Regions from separate parts of the Homo sapiens genome. Here regions 1, 2, 4 and 5 are each linked to region 3. The links are contacts of gene promoters, found by promoter capture Hi-C in blood cells and fetal thymus (Javierre and others, 2016). All regions are on one chromosome and are shown on one strand. Each heading gives the region's core, a stretch centred on a gene start or on the middle of the fragment in contact. The rest is flanking DNA. Distances are from core to core; before and after follow the strand shown.

Evidence for each region. Contacts are between HindIII fragments. The CHiCAGO score rates a contact against its expected background, and 5 or more counts as called.
Region 1: a contact is called between a fragment that was not itself captured here and the fragment with the promoter of PLEKHO1 in region 3, in 14 of 17 cell types (erythroblasts, naive CD8 T cells, activated CD4 T cells and 11 more). The highest score is 15.1, in erythroblasts.
Region 2: a contact is called between a fragment that was not itself captured here and the fragment with the promoter of PLEKHO1 in region 3, in 7 of 17 cell types (erythroblasts, naive B cells, activated CD4 T cells and 4 more). The highest score is 8.2, in erythroblasts.
Region 4: a fragment that was not itself captured here is called in contact with the fragment with the promoter of PLEKHO1 in region 3 in 7 of 17 cell types (total CD4 T cells, naive CD8 T cells, erythroblasts and 4 more); the score reaches 7.3 in total CD4 T cells.
Region 5: a fragment that was not itself captured here is called in contact with the fragment with the promoter of PLEKHO1 in region 3 in 11 of 17 cell types (erythroblasts, megakaryocytes, naive B cells and 8 more); the score reaches 10.6 in erythroblasts.

The regions. Positions count from the first base shown.
Region 1 is chr1:149,978,406-149,981,105 of GRCh38, reverse strand. All of the region lies in intron 1 of OTUD7B (OTU deubiquitinase 7B), which reads left to right. Among named protein-coding and RNA genes, the nearest start is that of OTUD7B, 31 kb to the left of the region's middle. The HindIII fragment of the contact is 1,140 bases long and covers 723-1,862 here.
Region 2 is chr1:149,903,147-149,905,846 of GRCh38, reverse strand. SV2A (synaptic vesicle glycoprotein 2A) reads left to right here. Exons shown (of 13, transcript NM_014849.5): 13 at 650-2,529. The coding sequence ends at 833. Among named protein-coding and RNA genes, the nearest start is that of BOLA1, 4.9 kb to the right of the region's middle. The HindIII fragment of the contact is 3,812 bases long and covers 1-2,700 here.
Region 3 is chr1:150,148,509-150,151,208 of GRCh38, reverse strand. It overlaps PLEKHO1 (pleckstrin homology domain containing O1), which reads right to left and starts at 1,293. Exons shown (of 6, transcript NM_016274.6): 1 at 922-1,293; 2 at 151-297. The coding sequence starts at 951. RefSeq lists silencers at 986-1,065, 1,206-1,665 and an enhancer at 853-1,353. The HindIII fragment of the contact is 16,730 bases long and covers 1-2,700 here.
Region 4 is chr1:149,957,231-149,959,930 of GRCh38, reverse strand. It overlaps OTUD7B (OTU deubiquitinase 7B), which reads left to right. Exons shown (of 12, transcript NM_020205.4): 7 at 135-247. Among named protein-coding and RNA genes, the nearest start is that of MTMR11, 22 kb to the right of the region's middle. The HindIII fragment of the contact is 2,342 bases long and covers 194-2,535 here.
Region 5 is chr1:149,997,912-150,000,611 of GRCh38, reverse strand. All of the region lies in intron 1 of OTUD7B (OTU deubiquitinase 7B), which reads left to right. Among named protein-coding and RNA genes, the nearest start is that of OTUD7B, 11 kb to the left of the region's middle. The HindIII fragment of the contact is 4,644 bases long and covers 1-2,700 here.

The DNA of each region.
Region 1 (2,700 bases), core at 43-2,542, 170 kb after region 3:
TCCTCCTCCTCTTCCTCCTCCTCCTCCTCCCTGAGACAGAGCCAAAAACTGTGTGTTTGGTTTGCTTTTTTTTTTTTTTTTTTTTTTTTTTGAAACAGGGTCTCACTCTGTTGCCCAGCCTGAAGAGTAGGGGCACAGTTGTCGCACACTATATAGCCTTGACCTCCCAGGCTCAAGCAATCCTCCCACCTCAGCCACTCACGTGGCTGGGACTACAGGCACACACGACCATGCTTAATTAGTTTAAAAAAGGTTTTTAGAGACAGGGTCCCACTGTGTTGTCCAGGCTGGTCTCAAACTCCTGGGCTCAAGTGATCCTCCTGCCTCAGCCTCTCAAAGTGCTGGGATTACAGGCATGAGCCACTGTGCCCAGCCCAAACTTTTTGTTTTTTTCGAGACAGAGTCTTGCTCTGTCGCCCAGGCTGGAGTGCAGTGGTGCCATCTCAGCTCACTGCAACCTCCACCTTCCTGGTTCAAGTGATCCTTCTGCCTCAGCCTCCCTAGTAGCTGGGACTAGCCACCACACCCAGCAAATTTTTGTATTTTTAGTAGAGACAGGGTTTCACCATGTTGGCCTGGCTGGTTTCAAACTCCTGACCTCAGGTGATCCACCCTCCTCGGCCTCCCAAAGTGCTGGAATTACAGGCGTGAGCCACTGTGCCCGGCCCAAACACTGTGTTTTAATCATTGGTTTGATATCTCCATTTGGAATTTGAAAAGCTTAAGCAAGGTATTAGTGGTGATGTAACAAAAGCTGTTGTTCTCACCTGTTGGGTGGGGTTAGGTCAGGGTCCACAGCATGCACCTGGAGACATCAAATGTAAGAATGTGCTGTTAGGAAGTTTGGCTTAGTGCTTCAAATTTTTGCTAAAGAGCAAGGCATTCTAGATAATGTTGAACCTCTAAATTACTTTGTTAAAATGTTTTTTGAGAAGAATAGCCTGTGTGCTGTGTTGACATGTGAGATCTATGATGCCATAACACTAGTTTTCATTCACTTCTCTCACCCAGAAGACTGTCTGGCTGTGAAATTGCCTGTATGCCTATGGCTTAGTCAACTCTTTTCCTTTTTGCTGAGCACCTGTTTGTGATTACTATTTTGTGTACTTATTGTATATTTCTCACATTCTTTCAGAAAGTTATTAAAATGGCTTTACAGTTGCGTTGCTTTTTTTTAAAGAGAGAAGATTGAAATTTATTTTGCAGCTATACACTTGGTTTTGGATTATTCATGTGTATAAGTTATTTGAGCTGCTACCACTTCCTCTGACCTAAGGCTGTGGCTAAAATGGGTTTGGAGAAGAAATTCTTGCCTGTACTGGGGGGTAGGGGGAGGATTCATTCATCTATTAATTCTGAAGGAATTTAATTCCTAATTCCTGAAGGTAAGGGACTTGACATTTTGAATTTGAATTTGACATTTGAATTTGACATTTTGAATTTGACATTTTGAATTTGAGGTATCTTAGACCAAAAGTTCTTTATGTATTAGTAATTCTTTCTGATAATTATGATGTTGAAACTCAGGTAAATTTAAAATTGACAATATCTAGAATGATAGTCAAAGATCATAGATCATGAGGCTATAGTGAACTGAAGAAGTTTATTTTTTAAACCTTGAAAGTATCTTATGAGTCATCTAATACAAGTCTAGATTATAGAAGAGACAACTGAAACCCTGTAAGTAATTTGACCAAAGTCACCTAGTTAATACATATAGGTGTATGTAGGTAAACTCATGTAGTGTGAGGGAGGTAAGAGTTGTGACAGCATGGTTGATGTCCCTTTGGAAAGGAGAGTTTTTAAAACTTAGAAATAGAATGGTGATAAGAAGTGCCGTAGAATTTCTGATCTGCTAAGCTTCAAATTGGTTGGTTTGTTGGTAGCTGATGTGGAAATTGGCTTAGTCATTGAATCATTTATTCATCAGGCATTTGACTACCTACCATATTATAGATGCTACACTAGATGTTGGAGTTACAAAAATGAAGAAATCGTGTCCCTGCGCTCATGGATCTCTTGTACTATTAGAACAGGACAAGAGAGAAAAATTTCTATTTTGCCATCTTTCTCTGTCTCAAAAAAAAAAAAATCCAGTGTTAGCAAGTTAGTGACCTGCTGGTTTTATAACCCACAAATCTTTTTTGTTTATTTGCCTTGCCACTTTTTGCCTTCAACAATTATGCTTTGACCTTTCCCAAAAGGCAGGGGATTGGTGGGTATGGTAGGGCAAGTGTACCTGGCAACTTAATGAATGAGTCTTCTATAGAAAGCTGTAAACTTGGCAGAATTTGATCAGAGATTGTTCTTTACTCTGTTATTGCTTCCCTCTGACTTTTAACCTCAGAGGAATGTTGGATTGGTGCCAGGCTGTCAGGTTAGGGACATAGTTTCTGCCAAAGTCTGAAAGAAGAGATCTTTTTCAGTTGAACTTATTTGACAGTCATCTGTCCTGTGTGGAGAAAGACGTGTTTGGAGTAGATGTGTTTCCTGGGTTCAAGAGGTTAATGGACAGAGATTGAATCTTGTTATGAACCTTTTGGGTCCCCACTCTGCTTTGTGGAATAACTTATTCTTTAATTTAATTTAAGTTAGTTTTTTGAGACAGTCGCTCTTTTGACCAGGCTGGAGTGAAGTGGTGTGATCTCGGCTCACTGCAACCTCTGCCCCACGTAGGTTCAAGGGATTCTCCTGCCTCAG
Region 2 (2,700 bases), core at 22-2,521, 250 kb after region 3:
TTCAGGGGAGGGGTGGGGTGAGGAAGGAGGGCTGAATGGGAAGAGCATCCTTAGGGGTGAGAGGATATACATTTCCATTTTCTCCTCTAAAATCTGGTAGCTTTGGCCGGGCACGGTGACTCATGCCTGTAATCCCAGTGCTTTGGGAGGCCGAGGCAGGCAGATCACCTGAGGTCAGGAGTTTGAGACCAGCCTGGCCAACATGGTGAAACCCTGTCTGTACTAAAAATACAAAAAGTTAGCTGGGTGCCTGTAATCGCAGCTACTCAGGAGGCTAAGGCAGGAGAATTGCTTGAACCCGGGAGGTGGAGCTTTCAGTGAGCCGAGATCGCACCACTGCACTCCAGCCTGGGCAACAGAGCAAGACTCCGTCTCAAAAAAAAAAAAAAAGGAAAAAAAAATCTGGTAGCTTTTGTATCTACTCCTCAAAGTCTTAACTGTTAACCTCAATTTTTGGTCTCCTTTCCCTTTGTCTCTCAATTTATTTACATTCCTGGTGTACATCCTTTACCTCTCTGATCTCTCCAACCTTCTCTCTCCCTCTTGGACACTGCCTGCATCTTCCTGGACTTCACTTCCCTGCCCTCCACTCTTCCTTTGCCTCCCTCCTGTACCTTGCGCCGTGCTGCACTGGGGGACTCCTGAGCAGGACCACAGCTTTTGGCTTCCTGAATGCCCTGTGTAAGCTGGCAGCTGTGCTGGGGATCAGCATCTTCACATCCTTCGTGGGAATCACCAAGGCTGCACCCATCCTCTTTGCCTCAGCTGCCCTTGCCCTTGGCAGCTCTCTGGCCCTGAAGCTGCCTGAGACCCGGGGGCAGGTGCTGCAGTGAAGGGGTCTCTAGGGCTTTGGGATTGGCAGGCACACTGTGAGACCAACAACTCCTTCCTTCCCCTCCCTGCCCTGCCATCCTGACCTCCAGAGCCCTCACTCCCCACTCCCCGTGTTTGGTGTCTTAGCTGTGTGTGCGTGTGCGTGTGCATGTGTGTAAACCCCGTGGGCAGGGACTACAGGGAAGGCTCCTTCATCCCAGTTTTGAGATGAAGCTGTACTCCCCATTTCCCACTGCCCTTGACTTTGCACAAGAGAAGGCTGAGCCCCATCCTTCTCCCCCTGTTAGAGAGGGGCCCTTGCTTCCCTGTTCCAGGGGTTCCAGAATAGGCTTCCTGCCTTCCCCATCATTCCCTCTGCCTAGGCCCTGGTGAAACCACAGGTATGCAATTATGCTAGGGGCTGGGGCTCTGGTGTAGACCATGGACCAAAAGAACTTCTTAGAGTCTGAAGAGTGGGCCTCGGGTGCCCTCTCACATCTCCTGTTGGATGCTGGGGGAGAAGCAATAAACCTCAGCCCTCTGGCCTCCACTTTCCTCTCAATTTGGGCTGCAAATATGAAGCCTGAATTTTATGAAATTAGCTTTCTGATTCTTATTTATTAATAGATTAAGTTCTGAGGCAGCTCCGCAGGACTGTGTGTGAATGTGTATGTATACTTACATATGTGTGTGCATGTGCCATGGGGCGGGGGGTATCACTATACTGTCCTCAAATATAAGCCAAGGGTAATTTCAGCGGATGCACACACAACCCTGCCTCCCACAGTTCCTCCCCTAATCTGGTTTCTGTGTTGAGCCTGGGATGGAGGAGCCCTAGGCCAGCCTGGGATAAGAGTCCCACAGTCTAGGGAGATCTGAGGGCATCCGACAAGGCCCATCTCCTTCCCTCCTCAAGAAGCAGAGGCCTCCTCTGGAGTGAGAGGCTCCACCCACTACAGCACAGGCGGGAATAGCACAGCTGCCCTCCCATGCTCCCTACCTGTCCCCTCACAGGGAGGGGAGCAGGGGAGGGAAAGAAACCAGGCATCTGGTCAAACCAGCAGATCAAAAAGCACAAAGAGCTGGGGCAGAGGCAGGAAGCAGGGGCCCTCCTGGCAGCTCCTCTGAGTGGGGAGAGGTTGGGCAGTGAGTGAGGGACCCCTAATGCAGGGACTAGAAGCCTCAGTTTCCCCATTTTACCCTTCCACACAATAGCCTCTGTAGGTTAGGCTGCCCCATCCCACCCTACTCTGTGTGGCTGCTTTCTTTGGTGCCCTCCCCTCACCCCACTGTAGCTGTGACGTGTTGTAGTTTTTAGATGTTTGTAAAATGTTTAAAAAAATGTTAAAAGGAAAAAAGTGAAAATAACAAAAAAGAAAATCAAAATTCACCTTCGTCATGCTGCGTCCAGTGCCCCAACCCTGTGGTCACTCTCCCCATTTTGTAACACTGTACCAGGTGGTGACTGTTTAACTCTTTGGTGTCTGTGCTCAAAAGACTGCCTTCTCCAGTGCCCAGTGTATGAGTGTGTGCCCTGTGCCCTTGTCCCTCACTCCCCACATGCTGGACGTAGCCCTCTTCCTCGCACCCCTGGGAGGGACCCATCCATCTCCCTTGCTCTCCTGGGGAACCCTAAACCCAACTCTGTTGATGTGAAAAATGCAGTGAAAAATATTGACGAAAAATAAAACGGAAACAAATCCTCAAAATACAAAATGGCTATACCTGCTTCTGTGACTCTCCACCTACATCCAATTCTCCTAACAGCCTTGGAGGGTAAAATGGTGAGATGGACTGAAGGTCAGAATAACATGGTGTACCAGATTTACTTCCTAAATTGGCCTCTCTACCTTGATCTTTCCCCTACAGATGGAGGGCCCTCTAAGT
Region 3 (2,700 bases), core at 44-2,543:
CCTTTCTCTGCAGATGAGATGGGGGTAGAGAGGAGACCACTGAACTTGCCTTTGGAACAAAACGGGGGTGGAGTAAGCTAGGCGAGCCCTTGGGGAGTGACAAAGTGGGGGCTATGAGAAAACGGAGAGTTAGAGGCAAGAGGCACCCACCTCCTTCTCAGAGATGTAGAGCTGGTCCCCTTTCAGCACCACATAGCGGTTTTTCCAAATCTCCCTGAAAATCCCTTTCCCGCAGAATTTCCGGACCCAGCCGACCTTCTCGGGCGGTGCAGGCTGCTGGTTTCCATCCTGAGGTCCCTGCCCCAGGACAAGATGAGAAGCGGGCGGTTAGGAGATTCCAGCCGGCGCTTCCTCTCCGTCCGTCTCTCACGACCGCCTCGGCGGCCCAGTCTCCTCCGAAGGCTGCGGCCGGGGGGCGGGGGGCCGCCCCAGGTTCGCTCCCACTTCGGAAAGGTTTTCACTCCGAGGAACTCCCCCCGCTCCCCTCCCCCGCTCCCGAATAAACAACCGGGGCTGCAAGTGGCAGGGGCGCCGGCCGGGCGCGGAGAGGCTCCCAGGTTCCCTCCAGGCCCTGCGCCCCCGCCGCCCCGTCCTCGCCGCGCGGGGACTAACGGCGTTTCTCTGGTTTTCTCTCCCATTGTCTCCTCGCCACGGCGGAGCGCGAGGCAAACGCTCGCCCGGCGCCCGGGGGCGGGGGAGGTGCGGGTCGTGGGGAAACTCAGCCAAGTTGAAGCCCCCCGAGGCGAGTAAACAAACAAAAGCCCCCGCGGGCGCCTGGCGGGGCCGAGGCCGAGGGGACCGGGCCGCCGGGGCGGGGGCGCGGCCGGGCCGTGGGTCTCCCAGGCCGCCGCGGCGCCGACGGAGCGGGGGTCGTCAGAGCGCGGAGGCGGCGGCGGCCGCAGGGCGGGCAAGCGCACTCACCCGCTTGGCGGAATTGTTCTTCTTCATCATTCCCAGCGGGCGCGGGCGCGGGGCGGCGAGCCGAGGGGCGGCCCCGCGTCGGGGCCTCGGCGGCACCGCGGGGGCTCCTTCCCCGCGGGAGGGCGTCGGAGCTGCCCCGGCGCCGCCGCTCCTCCCTCGCGCCCTCCCGCTCCCGGACTCTCCCCTTCTTTGTAGCTCCGGTTTCACTCAAGGCCGGCCTCCCTCGCATTCGCACTCGCACACACACGCACGCCCGCTCCCCGCCCCTTGGCGCCCTCCATCCCGGCGCCCACGCGGCCCGGGTCCCCGAGCGCACCCCCGCCACCCGCCCGCCCGGCCCAGCGCGGCCGCTCCCCCGGCCCGGTGCGCTGTGGGCGGCCCAGTCCGCACCCCGCAGCTCCATCCGCGGGCCGCTGACGTTGCGAGTTCAGAATAAAGGGCGAATCGCGGAGCCGCAGCTCGGGCGCTCCCCCCGCCCCCCCGCCTTTGTTTCTGACTCACGGAGGGGGAAGAAGGCGGCTTCGAAGCGGCTGGAGACCGCTCCCCAGGGGGCAGGGACCCTCGCTCCGGCGGCGGCTCGGGCGACACGCGGAGCCCGAGAGACCCGGCCGCCGGCCGCCCCGGGGCCCAGTGGGCGGGCGCGGTGGATAATGGAGAGACGTGCGGATTCGTGAAGACTGGAGATCGCCAGCCTCTACAGCATCGCCTTACCCGACCAAAAACAAAAACGAGAGCGGGAACCGGGAGGGCGCGCCACCCACAACCCGCATCAGGAATTCACGCTCCTAGGTGCTAGGGTGGCCTGGGCAGGTCAGATGCTGGGGGAAAGTTTTATGCTCCGGAGGGGATCGACGTGTTGGGGGATGGGGTGGGACAGAAGTTGCTATTAATACACGTTTCTTCCAGCGTACAATGCCTCAGGCCTTATTGTAGCTTCAGGAGAATAATCCTAAGGATGAGGCGGATTTTATGATCTCCATCTCACAGGGAGAAAACGGAGACTCAGAATAGCTGAGGGATTTGCAGACACAGTGTCGATGCTGGCTTTTCAGACACAGTGTCAATGCTGGCAGGAATAGAACTCTGTCTCCAAACCATTATCCTTTCTACCAAGTGGCTTTCAATATAAGTTCCAGGTGAGGCTTAAACTTCCTGCCACCTGGGTATCTTTTCCCGCTATACTGATAGGTAAAAACCCCACCCTCTCTACAGCGCTGGAGCCCAGTGGAGGGAAGGGCTGAACGCCCAGAGAATGCCCTGACTAGAGAAGCCTCTGCTGATCCCTCCTACAGCAGATCTGCCTCAGAGCCTCCAGGACACATCTTAGTAACTTCATGTCTTTTTAATATATATACGTGTGATGGAAAAGGGGAGTGAGAAACCCCGCGCTTGGGTACTGGTTTCATCACCACTCTGGGCTTTGGTCAAGTCACTGAATTTCTTTAGGCCCGCGTCCCTCCACGTATTAAGTGGTGAGGGATGAACTGCCATTTTTATCAACAAGGAAAGCTAGGGGAAGATATGAGATGACCTCTGAGAGTCCTTTGAAGATATGTGTTGTCTTCCAGGGCTAATTTTGAAATCATAATAAGCTAATAAACACATTGCCTGGCATATGGCAAGCATGCAGTAACCACAAAATGAATAAAAATCCCTGGCACTGAGGAGCAGGGAAAAGGAAAAATCATTTTTCCAGAGATGTCTCAAGATAAAAGTGTTGGCTAGATTTGTGGTTTGAATAGTGGAGGCTCTTTTGACTTTTTCTGGTGTCTGTCAAAT
Region 4 (2,700 bases), core at 115-2,614, 190 kb after region 3:
GACTTTGTAGTACAATTTGTAAACCAAGTGCTAAGGGATTAGGGAGTAAGTAACAGTGAATAAGGTGGAATAGGTATTGCCTCTTAGAACCCAGCCTCTAATTGCCCAATGTCCCCTGCCTGTCCTTCACACAGTCAGGGCTGGTATACACAGAAGATGAATGGCAGAAGGAGTGGAATGAACTGATCAAGCTTGCCTCAAGTGAACCCCGAATGCATCTAGGTACCAATGGAGCCAACTGTGGTGGGTAAGTATGGCTAAGTAGGGGAGGAGGAAACCTGCATAGAGTCCTCACTGGGCTTCCACAGCCCAGTGTCTAGAGAGCTCTGTGCTAAGAGGATATTAGAAGGAAAGAGGGGAACTATGCTAAGGGCACAAAAGTGTGTAACAACATGATATGTTTAGGAACTACAGGTAGTTCGGTATTGAACTGGAATATAAAGTAGCCCATCTAGACTTTGGAAACTTCAGGACAAATGACCCAGTATCTTCAGTAAGTAAACTGCAAGGAAAATAAAAAGGGACCAGGAACTTGTAGGTTTAAATGGACTAAAAAGACATATCAGGCCGGGTGTGGTGTCTCACACCTGTAATCTCAGCACTTTGAAAGGCTGAGGCAGGAGGATCGTGTGAGCCCAGGAGTTCGAAACCAGCCTGGGTAACATAGTGAGACCCCCTTTCTTTTTCTTTCTTTTTTTTCTTTTTTTTTTGAGACAGAGTCTTACTTTGTTGCCCAGGCTGGAGTGCAGTGGTGTGATCTCTGCTCACTGCAACCTCTGCCTTCAGGGTTCAAGTGATTCTCTGTTTCAGCCTCCCAAGTAGCTGGGACTACAGATGCATGCCACCACGCCCAGCTAATTTTTGTATTTTTATTAGAGACGGGGTTTCACCATTTTGGCCAGGGTGATCTCAAACTCCTGGCCTCAAGTGATCCACCCACCTTGGCCTCCCAAAGTGCTGGGATTACAAGCATGAGCCACCATGCCTGGCCAGTGAGACCACATCTTAAAAAAAAAAAATTAGCCAGGCATGGTGGTGCATGCCTATAGTCCCAGCTACTTGGGAGGCTGAGGTGGGAGGATTGCCTGAGCTGGGGAGGTCGAGGCTGCAGTGAGTTGTGACAGCACCCCTGCACTCCAGCCTGGGTGACAAAGAGAGACCTCTGTCTCTAAAAGAAAAAAAAGACATCAACCAGTTGGGATGTGTGGACATCATAAGACAATTAAGGAAATGTGAACAATGTCTCTGTGTTTGATTATTGTTAAAATTATAAAATGTGATATTAATGGTATAGTGGTTGTTTAAAAAGGTAGTCCTGGCCAGGCGCAGTGGCTCACGCCTGTAATCCCAGAACTTTGGGAGGCCGAGGTGGGCGGGAATTCGAGACCAGCCTGGCCAATGTGGTGAAACCCTGTCTCTACTGAAAATACAAAAAATTAGCTGGGCGTGGTGCTAGGCGGCTGTAATCCCAGCTACTCGAGAGGCTGAGGCAGGAGAATTGCTTGAACCCAGGAAGCAGAGGTTGTAGTCAGCCGAGTTCGTGCCACTGCACTCCAGCCCTGGCGACAGAGTGAGACTCCATTTCAAAAAAAAAAAAAAAAAAAAAAAGGTAGTCCTTTATGTTTTTAGAGATAGAAACTGAAATAAAATAAAAATGGATGAAATTATATAATGTCCAGGATTTGCTTCAAAATTCTCTGGTGGTAGCCCCGTGATGGGGGAGGTAGGTAAATAGATCTGAGGTGTAGTAAAACAAGATTGACCAAGTGTTGAAGATGGCCAAATAGGAACAGCTCCAGTCTACAGCTCCCAGCATGAGTGACGCAGAAGAGGGATGATTTCTGCATTTCCAACTGAGGTACCGGGTTCATCTCAGTAGGGCTTGTTGGACAGTGGGTATAGCCCACGGAGCGTGAGCCGAAGCAGGGCGGGGCATTGCCTCACCTGGGAAGCACAAGGAGTTGGAGAATTCCCTTTCCTAGCCAAGGGAAGCCGTGACAGACGGTACCTGGAAAATCGGGACATTCCCACCCTAATACTGCCCTTTTCCAACGGTCTTAGCAAATGGCACACCAGGAGATTATATCCCGTGCCTGGCTCGGAGGGTCCCATGCCTGCGGAGGCTTGCTCACTGCTAGCACAGCAGTCTGAGATAGAACTGCAAGGAGGCAGTGAGGCTGGGAGAGGGGCGTCCGCCATTGCTGAGGCTTGAGTAGGTAAACAAAGCGGCCGGGAAGCTCGAACTGGGTGGAGCCCACTGCAGCTCAAGGAGGCCTGCCTGCCTCTGTAGACTCCACCTCTGGCGGCAGGGCATAGCTGAACAAAAGGTAGCAGGAACTTCTGCAGACTTAAACGTCCCTGTCTGACAGCTTTGAAGAGAGTAGTGGTTCTCCCAGCACGCGGTTTGAGATCTGAGAACGGACAGACTGCCTCCTCAAGTGGGTCCCTGACCCCCGAGTAGCCTAATTGGGAGACACCTCCCAGTAGGGGCTGACTGACATCTTATACAGCCGGGTGCCCCTCTGAGATGAAGCTTCCAGAGAAAGGATCAGGCAGCAACATTTGCCGTTCTGCAATATTTGCTGTTCTGCAGCCTCCACTGGTGATACCCAGGCAAACAGGGTCTGGAGTGGACCTCCAGCAAACTCCAACAGACCTGCAGCTGAGGGTCCTGACTGTTAGAAGGAAAACTAACAGAAA
Region 5 (2,700 bases), core at 99-2,598, 150 kb after region 3:
TTTCTCAACATTGCTTTTCAGATGTGTCTACAGGTAGATCTAGTTCATTCAGTCACCTAAATTTTAAACCTGTTTTCTCCATTGCCCTCCCCACTTGTCCTGTTTTTTTGTTTGTTTGTTTTTTGTTTTCTTTTTTTAAGACAGGGTCTTGCTCCGTCACCCAGGCTGGAGTGCAGTGGTGCCATCTTTGCTCACTGCAATATCTACCTCCAGCGTTCAAGTGATTGTCCTGCCTCAGCCTCCCAAGTAGCTGGGACTACAGGTGCGCGCTACCACACCCGGCTAATTTTTGTATTTTTTAGTAGAGACAGGGTTTCCTAATGTTAGCCAGGCTGGTCTCGAACTCCTGACCCCAAGTGATCTGCCTGCCTCAGTCTCCCAAAGTGTTGGATTACAGGCGTGAGCCACCATGCCCAGCTCCCACTTGCCCTGTTTTGTTTTGTTTTGTTTTTAAACTTACCCATTCTTAAAGTCCCAGTGTAAACTATCTCTTCCACAAAAACGTTCCTGATTTTCTTTTTTCTCCAGCAGGATATAATCTTTCCCACAACTGGCTTAGAATTCTTTATAAGCCTTTTATATTAACTAATCAAAGTTGTATCCAGGCTACACTCTACAGATACCTACTTAGAGAATATTATAGATAGAATGCAGCTTTGAAAGTGCCAGTGCTGTGTTCTAAAATAGTTCTTTGAAAAGTCAGGGTCATTTTAAATGAGTTAGTCTACTAGTGCCTTTTGAATCATTAACAGCTAACATCAAAAGAAAAGGAAGAGCGAATTCCTCTGAGGCTTTAGTGTTAATTAATATTGATATTTACATGAAGGTAGTCGCATGTGAAGAATTAAGACACGACAGTGGGAAAATACAATGATGCTAACTAACAAAAATGTAGTTTGTTTATTTATTTATTAGGGACAGGGTCTCACTATGTTGCCCAGGCTGGTCTTGAACTCCTGGGCTCAAGCCATCCTCCTACCTCAGCCTTGTGAGTAGCTGGGACTATAGGTGTGTGCCACCATGCCTAGCTCCAACAAAAATATATTTTAGAAACTTATCTCCTCTTATGTGTTCCATTGTGAGCATCTGCTTTTGCCTCCCTTGAACTGGTAGCTCACCTGGCTAAGTATGAAACCATCAATTTCCTGAAAATTTCTATCAGTTCTAAGGGACAGGATTCTCTGACATGAACAATACTTGGTCCCTGTTGTTTACTGACATGAATAGAGACTTTCCATACCCCTTCTTAGAACTCTGAAAATAGAATTTGAGAGTTAGACTTAAGAGTTTCTGTGTCCTAGCTTCTTTGCTTGCCTAAAATAAATTCCTGGCTATTTGGCACAAGGTGTCCTGTCATTTTAACAACTTTAAGTTCCTTCTTTCTCACATCTTTGTAATTTTGTATAATATACTAGTTCATTATGAAAATTGAGATTTAAATCATCTGTGCAAATTTCCCTTGATGTTTGCTGCTTGATTGAAACTACAAATTCCTTTCCACCGAACACTTGGCTGTGCACTGGAATCTGGGGACAATGCACTAAGGAGATGCCAAGGAGGAGTTACCCAGTAAATAAATAAGCAGGAGGAGAACTGGCCCCTTGGGAATTTATATTCTGGGTTACATAGGACATGGTTACATACAGATAAATGCATATAAAGAAAAAAAATGTGAGAAACAAATACAGGCTATGTAGCAGTATATCTAATATCATATAGCATTTTAGAACTGAAAAGAGATTTACATATTGTCATTTTCTAGGTGAGGAAAATGAGACCCAGAAAATTTAAATGACTTGTCTAAGGTAGTAGTTACTGTCAACAGTTTATTGGATATCTGTTCTCTGAAAAGTTAGGCTTCCAGTATATTATAGAAACAGTCAAAGTCATTAAGAACTCACTAATTATTTGTGAACACTGAATATTTGCATAAATAGATAAATAGTAATACAAGTCCAAGGTACTAAGTACCAAGTGAGGAGTACAGTTACATAGCTATATAGAAGTTTAAAGGGAATAGATAGGGAAAAGTTTTACCTTTATGGTAATCTAGACCTTAGAGAAGAGAGAAATATAGCGGGGAAACATTCAAGGTGGAGAACCAGTGAGCTGAGCTCACCTTGTTTTGGGGGCAGGAAAAGTAGTTTGTAGCACAGTGTTTTACCTAGGAGGGCAATAAGATCAGTAAAGTTAGTAAAGTTAGAGAGTTAGATAAATTGGAGTGAGACTTAAATCTCAGCCAAAGGAATTTGGTTTTTATACTTATACTGAAAAATCTCTGAGTAGGGAATTGTATTGTATGAATTAGTATTTTAGGAAAACTGATTCAGCCTTGTGGTATAAAATAGAGGAAAGGATACCAGTTAGAGGACTGTTATAATAGTCCAGGAAAAAGACTGTCTACAAGGGTAATGGTAATGCAGAAAGGGGGAGAGATTTGAGTAATTTGAAGAGAGATAAGGGGAATTTGGTAACTGATTATCGTGAAAAAGGTTAGGTAAGAATGATCACACATTTTCAGTCTGGGTAATAGCAATAAGGAGAGCTGGGTTTGGTGGGTTTCTGATGCCTCTCCGAAGTGGGGTACCTTGGTAGACAGCTTTGAAAGGTACTGAGTCTGGCTCAGCATTCTCAGTGGATACTGAATTCAGGGTTTAAGTAACTGGTTTATGTTTGCATGCCTAGTAAGTAGTAGGACTT